Linked DNA regions of Homo sapiens: regions 2 and 3 are each linked to region 1. The links are contacts of gene promoters, found by promoter capture Hi-C in human tissues and cell types (Jung and others, 2019). All regions are on one chromosome and are shown on one strand. The core of a region is centred on a gene start or on the middle of the fragment in contact, and the rest is flanking DNA. Distances in the headings are between cores, read along the strand shown. Region 1 holds the start of BMP3 (bone morphogenetic protein 3). Region 2 overlaps CFAP299 (cilia and flagella associated protein 299). Region 3 overlaps CFAP299 (cilia and flagella associated protein 299).

Region 1 (2,700 bases), core at 86-2,585:
GCACACTGAAACTTCAGTTTAAATGCTAATTTCACTATTAATAGTGTGGTTATCTGGCCTGAGGCCAGAAATCAGACTCCCTGAATTTGGATCTCAGTTCTGTCACTTACTATGTATCCTTTTGCCTCAGTTTCCTCATCTGTAAAATGGGTTTTGCTGTGAAAATTATTTGGTAATATACTTGAAATATAAATAACAAGGCATGTCTAGAGCATAAGTGTGGAGAAAAATGTTAGCTCACAGTTGTTTTTTGTTTGTTTGTTTGTTTTTTGTTTTGAGACAAAGTTTGCTCTGTCACCCAGTCTGGAGTGCAGTGGCACAATCTCGGCTCACTGCAACCTCCATCTCCTGGATTCAAGCCATTCTCTTGCCGCAGCCTTCCCAGTAGCTGGGATTACATGTGCGCACCACCACGCCCAGCTAATTTTTGTATTTTTAGTAGAGATGAGGTTTCACCATGTTGGCAAGGCTGGTCTCGAACTCCTGACTTCGTGATCCACCCGCTTTGGCCTTCCAAAGTGCTGGGATTACAGGCCTGAGCCACTGCGCCAGGCTGCTCATAGTTTAATCTCCATTGTACAGCCATGACAAGAGAGAATTAGGAAGACAAAGCTAGCGACTCTTACATTCTGTTCCGGACTCCGGGATCTTCCACACACCCTTGTTTTTAGCCACCACTGCACCATCCTGCTGGGAAACCTTTTGGGGACCTGTAGGAAGGAAACCTTTGGGGGAAGCTGTAGGTGGGGTTGTGGTGTGTTTGCTTGTTTTCTTATTTGTTTTTAACATGATATTGACTCGCACATATTTCTCACCTCGAGAGAAGATGATGCGGGAGAGAGGGGCGTTATGATGGGTATGCTCTCAGAAAGACAGGAAGCTATGATGACGGGCTGCAGGTGCAGGGGCCCGCAGTGTCCGTCAGAAGAGGCTCGGGAAAGTAAGCGAGAATGGTGTTCACGTTGTGACTTTGTTTGGAATCATAAGACCGAAAAGCCAGGAAGAAGTTCTGTTTTCCTCTGCCCTCTTGCTAGCCACCACACAGCCACTGTTCTTGGAGAATTAAAAAAAAAAACAAACAAAAACAAAACAAAACAAAACAAAAAAACCGTCCCTCCTACCATTTCTTTAGTCCTGAATCTCCTTTTCCCTTCCTCTCCCCAGCCATCCCCACCCCTACTTCCTCTTCTCTCCCTCCCGCTGCCAGTTCTCTGGTTACTCCCCCCCTCCCTTGCTTCTATCCCAGCCTGGTGCAAGCTAAGAGGGCGAGGACGAGGGAGTGGGAGAGATTGGCTGAGGACTCTACAGATCAGCTAGAGAGCGAAAGAACTAAGTCTCTCTCTCTCATACACACACACACACGCACACACGCGCGCGCGCGCGCGCACACACACACACACGTACACTAAAAAACTCGGACCAGCCGCGCCGCAGCTGCTCCAATCCCTGGAAAAGGCAATCGAGCGCCCTCCGGACCGCTGCGCACAGCCCCGGCTCCGACCTGGCGCCCAAAACAGAGCTAGTCCTAGTCCCTCGCGCGGCCAGTTTGGCCGGGTGTTCCCAAAAATAAAGCGAGGAGGGAAGGTACAGACAGATCTTGAAAACACCCGGGCCACACACGCCGCGACCTACAGCTCTTTCTCAGCGTTGGAGTGGAGACGGCGCCCGCAGCGCCCTGCGCGGGTGAGGTCCGCGCAGCTGCTGGGGAAGAGCCCACCTGTCAGGCTGCGCTGGGTCAGCGCAGCAAGTGGGGCTGGCCGCTATCTCGCTGCACCCGGCCGCGTCCCGGGCTCCGTGCGCCCTCGCCCCAGCTGGTTTGGAGTTCAACCCTCGGCTCCGCCGCCGGCTCCTTGCGCCTTCGGAGTGTCCCGCAGCGACGCCGGGAGCCGACGCGCCGCGCGGGTACCTAGCCATGGCTGGGGCGAGCAGGCTGCTCTTTCTGTGGCTGGGCTGCTTCTGCGTGAGCCTGGCGCAGGGAGAGAGACCGAAGCCACCTTTCCCGGAGCTCCGCAAAGCTGTGCCAGGTGACCGCACGGCAGGTGGTGGCCCGGACTCCGAGCTGCAGCCGCAAGACAAGGTCTCTGAACACATGCTGCGGCTCTATGACAGGTACAGCACGGTCCAGGCGGCCCGGACACCGGGCTCCCTGGAGGGAGGCTCGCAGCCCTGGCGCCCTCGGCTCCTGCGCGAAGGCAACACGGTTCGCAGCTTTCGGGCGGCAGCAGCAGGTGAGTGCGCGAGGTGAGACTCCCTTCCCGCGGTCCCGCCCCAGCTTTCTCCCGGGACCCCCCACAGCTTCCTTGTCTGCCCCTTGCTTGGTGGCGCTGCCTAGGGACCTTTCTCCGCCCTCCTCAGCTGCCCTCTGGATTCCTCCGTCCAGTCACACCCCGCGTGTCGCCAGCTGCATCTCCTGTAAGCCCAGTTTTCAAATCCAAAGTGAGAGGGGGAAATAGAATGAAGGCGCGGAGCAGTGGAGGGGTAGGCTGGAGGAGCTTCGTGGAAAAAGGGAAGGGGCGACACCCCATGCCTGTGAGGCCTCCTGCCCTGAGTGACTGGAGCACCTCTAGGGTACCTTATTCTGTTGATTCCTAAATCGGCCAGCGGAAATTCCTTTGGACTGGGCTTTAGCCATGTTTACTAAGAGGCAGATGCCATTTTATGCCAATGCCAGGACCCGAGAGAAATCATACTTGAATAAGA
Region 2 (2,700 bases), core at 22-2,521, 150 kb before region 1:
GAAGAAAGTTTCCAGTAAGTTTCCAGCCTTACAGTGTGCTCCTTGTTGAGTTGGCCTCTATCTTGCCTCATATTAGGCACTATTGACCAGTGTGTATGCCTCTCTGAGTCTGGACTAGTACATAAAGCTTGGAAGAGGTATCTGCTTCTTTAAATGTACAGACAACAAAGTAAACCTACAAGGAATATGAAGAATTAAGAAAACATAACAAAATTTAAATAAGAAAACAATTTTTTAGTAACTAACCCAAGATAAATGGAGATCTGTGAATTGCAAAAGAATTCAAAATAATCATCTTAAAGGTGCTCAGTGAGTTACAAGAGAACGTGGATAGACAGCTGAACATAATCTGGAAAACAATAGATGAAATGTATGAGAAATTCAATAAGGAGATAGAAATGATGAAAAAGAATTAACCAGAAATTTTGAGGCAGAGGAACACCATAACCAAAATGAAAAATTTACTAGAGGCCTCAACAGCAGATTTTATCAGGCAGAATAAAAAATCAGTAGGTTTAAAGACAGGTTATTTTAAATTGTTCCATCAGAGGAGCAAAAAAAAAGAATGAAAAAGACTGAAGAAAGCCTAAGAAACTTATGCAGCTCTGCCAAGAGAATCAATATACGTGTTATGGAAGTTATAGAAGGAGAATAGAGATAAAAATTGGTAGAAAGTGATTTAAAGCAATAATGATGGAAAACATCCTCAGTCTCAAAAAGGAAATGGAAAGCTAGATTCATGAAGGCCAAAGGAACCCAAATAGGTTGAATTTAAAGAAGTCTACATAAAGATACATTGTAATCAAATTATAAAAGTCAAAGGAAAAGCAAAGTTCAAAGTGGTAAGTAAGGCCGGGCGCAGTGGCTCACTCCTGTAATCCCAGCACTTTGGGAGGCCGAGGCGGGCGGATTACGAGGTCAGGAGATCGAGACCATCCTGGCTAACACGGTGAAACCCCGTCTCTACTAAAAGTACAAAAAATTAGCCGGGCGCGGTGGCAGGCGCCTGTAGTCCCAGCTACTCCGGAGGCTGAGGCAGGAGAATGGCGTGAACCCGGGAGGCGGAGCTTGCAGTAAGCCGAGATAGCGCCGCTGCACTCAGGCTTGGGCAAAAGAGCGAGACTCCGTCTCAAAAAAAAAAAATTGAAAAAAAAAGTGGTAAGTAAAAAGTGTCTCATTACATACAAGATAATCACCATAAGACTATAAGTATACCTCTCAGCAGAAACTTTGTAGCACAGAAGAAAATGAGATAATATATTCAAAATATTAAAAGAGAAAAAACTGCCAACCAAAAATAATATACGAGCAAAGCTATCCTTCAGAAATGAAGGAGAGAGAAAAACTCTAAAACAAAAATTGAGAGAGCTCATTACAAGACCTGCCTTATTAGAAATGCTAAAGGGAATTCTTCAAGATGAAGAGGACACAAATAGATGCTGATTAGAAGCATGAAAATACATAAAATTATAAATCTCATTGCTTAAAATAAGGATATAGATAAAATATAATAATGGTGATGCATAAATCATGTTCAATTCATATAAAAGTTAAAAGACAAATGCATAACAATATAACTACAATAATTTGCTAATAAATATACAATATTAAAAGTTATACATTTTGACTCTAATAACATTAAGCATATGAGAGGAATGAAGAAGAAAAGTTGAGAGTTTTTGTATGTGATTGAACTTAAGTTCTTATCATGTGAAAATGGACTGTTATAACTAAAGATGGCATATATTAGCCTCACGGTAAACACAAATTAAACCTGTGCAAGATACAGAAAATATAAAGAGAAGGAATCAAAGCATACCACTATAAAAATCATGAAATCATAAAGAAAAACAGCAAGAGAAGAAGAAAGGAACAAAGAAACTACAAAATGTTCAGAAAACAACAAAATGACAATTAAAAGTCCTCCCTATCAATAATTACTATATATGTAAATAGTTAAATTTCCCAATCAAAAAAGTGGATGAAAGGATAAGAAAACATTATCCAACCATATGCTGCCTACAAACGACTCAGTTTACCTTTAAGGACACAAATAGGCTGAAAATGAATACATTTTCATGAAAAAAATGTTACATAAAGTAATAATTAAAAGAGAGCAGGAGTGTCTAATCTTATATTAGACAAAATAGACTTTATATAGAAAATTTTCACAAGGGATAAAGAAGTTCATAATAGAGTGATACAGAAGCGAATTAAGAGGATATAATTTTTTAAAATATGCACTCAGAGCTCTTAAATATATGAACCAAATATCAACAGATTTGAAGGGAGAGATAGCAATACAATAATAATAGAGGACTTCAATAGTCCACTTTTTTGTTTGTTTGTTTGTTTGTTTGTTTTTACTTTTATTTTAAGTTCAGGGGTACACGTGCAGGATGTGCAGGGTTGTTACATGTGTCATGGAGGTTTGTTGTACCAATTATTTCATCACCCAGGTATTAGGCCTGGTACTCAATAGTTATTTTTTCTGATCCTCTCCCTTTTCCCACCCTTCACCCTCCAGTATGCACTGGTGTGTGGTGTTCCCTTCTATGTGTCCATGTGGTCTCGTCATTTAGCTCCCACATATAAGTAAGAACATGAGGCAATTCTCCACTTTCAACAATGTACAGATAAAACAAAAATTCAGAAAGAAAACAGCAGACTTGAACAACACTATAGGTCAACTTTCCAACA
Region 3 (2,700 bases), core at 30-2,529, 170 kb before region 1:
CTACAGATTGCAAAGTGGCTGCAATTATCCACTTTGTCCTTTGTCCATGACCTTTTGCAATGACATTTGGTTCCTCCCATCAAGAGAAGAAGTCACTCTGCCCTGCCTCTTGAGTCTGGACTGGCCTGCAACCTGCTTTGGCCAACAGGATGTGGAAAATAAAAGTGTGCTTGTTCTGAGCCCAAGCCTCCAACAGGAAAGACAAAGAACTGTGCTAAACATAACCCTGTGAATTGTATGAATAGTGAAAATTATATATTTTATATATATATGTAAAACTGCGATTGACTGAGATAATATAGAATTTAAAAACAGTTATCAGCACAAAACATTCAGAAAATAACTTGTTGCACAGAGATTTATAATGATGGGCATTTCTAAATGTTAGAAAACAATAGTTGATTCGCAGAGAACTTAGGCTACATTTGCAAAATCACTTATGTTCTGAAACAAAAAGAAGGGTCCCTAAAATTAATGATTCATTAGCGCATTCAAGAGATTTAAAATTCTAGCACATAACGATTCCTTCATTTGTCTCTATCAGAGAGCACACTGACAGTCTGCTCTCTGGGTAACACAAGAACTTAGCTTTGTTTGACAGCTCTCATTCCCTGGAAAAGGATGTTTCAGTTTCAGTACAGCAACATACTGCTTAGCATGCTTTTTTTTTTTTTTTTAAGTGACTTTGGCTTCACTGTCAATAAAGTCCCATTTCGATGTATCAGTTTTATGTCCCCTCATTAGTATTTGGCAAGAAAAATCAGGCAACACATGTAGTCAGCTTATAACAAGTTCATGAATTTGTATTTTAATCCACTTCTGGGAAAAGACAAGCAGCCAAAGATCCAAATGATATATTAATGGTCTAAATTTTACTCTAATTCATCTTTTTCCAATATATGAGAGGTAATGAGGACCTAACTAAGTATTGCATAAGTCTTTTCAACTAACATTGGTTCACTTTTGAGGTCACAGGCTCCCTCAGTAAAATCTCAGATTCTACATGCCCCTTGGTGTCTTATTCCCCACTTCAATATCAGAAGCAATGTGTCTTGATATTTCTTCATTGCTTGTTCATGTGGGGATTTTTTACATGGTTAACCAAAAACTAGTATTTTCTGCTTAGGTTGCCAATAAATAGATCCGTATTCATGGCTTCAAATGAATAGCATGTGATTTTTTTAATGCTTTTGTTGGTTGTACCTTGACTTGTTCTAGATAGGATTAAAGGGTTTTATCTAAGGAAAATATGAATTTTGGAAGTTTTTCCTTTATAAACATAGCATCATCATTTTTAAAAGCCTTTTAATATATAAAGTATCGTTTTCATGTGTCTTTTGGGAAATTAACTGTGATTAAAAATGTTATTAGAATGAAAAAGATCATATATTGTATGATTCCACTTTTATGAAAAATCCAGAAAAGAGACTCTATAGAGATAGAAAGTAGATTAGTGATTGCCTGGGGCTGGGGGTGGAGATAGGGATGGCTACAAATGTCATAAGGGATCTCTTGGGAGTGATGAGAATATTCTAAATTGGAGTTGTATTGTGCAACTCCATAAATTTACCAAAAATCATTGAAATCACTTAAACTTCATTGTGAATTTTTATGTTAAGTAAACTATACTTAAATAAAGCTTTTATTTAAAAATGTTTTTAGTTAAACCTAAGCAATTATTTATAACATTTTAAAATTATTCTTAAGTCTATAGGGCTCTGAATAACAAAGCTTTCAGTTACTGAAATACATCACACTCAGGCTGAAATAAACCTAATTCTTCAAGGGGCTCTTTTGACCTATTTGCCCCATTCTGGATGCCACAATAGTGGTTTTATTGTCAATTGGGTGTGTCTTGTATATATGTGTGTGTATGTGTATATATATAGGTATATATATATATATATACCTATATAAGTATATATATACCTATGTGTATACATATATACACATATATATACATATATACCTATATATACGTATATATACATATACGTATATATAGGTATATATATATAATAACTAAAACGTTTGTTTCAATTTTAGCTTCAAATTATATAAAAAGTTTTAACTGTGAATAACTAAACTTAAGAAAGAAACTGAACCATGTATGGCAACCCTAACATAACTATATACACCAGGCAATGGAATTCTGATATGATTATTCCATTTCCATATCCCCTAAGGAATTTATAAAACTCTTAACATGCTACAAATACAATAGCAACATTAATGACAAAAGTTTTCAAAAGCAATAGATATTATTTATTGAGTGCTTACCATGTATCAGGCATTACCAAGGGCTTAGCAAAATAGTGTTATTTAATTCACACACCAATTTAGGTATTATTATGCCCATTTTATTATAGAGGAAACTAAATTTTAAAATGTATTACTAACTTACCAGTGTCACACAGTAAGTAGGTGACAGAGCCAGCATTTGAATCCAAGTCTATCCATCATGCAGTAGATAAGAACCTGAATATCATGGGAAGCCAAGCTGGGTGTGAGTTTGGATGCTCCCCTCTCTAGCTACATATCCTTGGGAGTTACCAAAACTCTCAATGCTTTCATCTCCCACATTTATAAAATGAGGGTAATAATGCTATCTAGCCATAATAAAATGTTTGAAACAATTAAATGAGATAATGAATGTGAAGCTTTTAAAACTTCACTCAGAATATAGTGGCTTCTTAATAA

What was found. The method cuts DNA at HindIII sites, captures the fragments that hold promoters and counts their contacts. A contact is called where the count stands out against the background at its distance.
Region 2: a fragment that was not itself captured here is called in contact with the fragment with the promoter of BMP3 in region 1 in 1 of the 25 tissues and cell types used here (stomach).
Region 3: a fragment that was not itself captured here is called in contact with the fragment with the promoter of BMP3 in region 1 in 1 of the 25 tissues and cell types used here (H1 embryonic stem cells).

What each region holds. Positions count from the first base shown.
Region 1 is chr4:81,029,373-81,032,072 of GRCh38, forward strand. BMP3 (bone morphogenetic protein 3) reads left to right here and starts at 1,336. Exons shown (of 3, transcript NM_001201.5): 1 at 1,336-2,228. The coding sequence starts at 1,913. The HindIII fragment of the contact is 7,363 bases long and covers 1-2,700 here.
Region 2 is chr4:80,881,507-80,884,206 of GRCh38, forward strand. The region is part of intron 4 of CFAP299 (cilia and flagella associated protein 299); the gene reads left to right. Among named protein-coding and RNA genes, the nearest start is that of BMP3, 150 kb to the right of the region's middle. The HindIII fragment of the contact is 3,077 bases long and covers 1-2,700 here.
Region 3 is chr4:80,862,541-80,865,240 of GRCh38, forward strand. All of the region lies in intron 3 of CFAP299 (cilia and flagella associated protein 299), which reads left to right. Among named protein-coding and RNA genes, the nearest start is that of BMP3, 170 kb to the right of the region's middle. The HindIII fragment of the contact is 3,790 bases long and covers 1-2,700 here.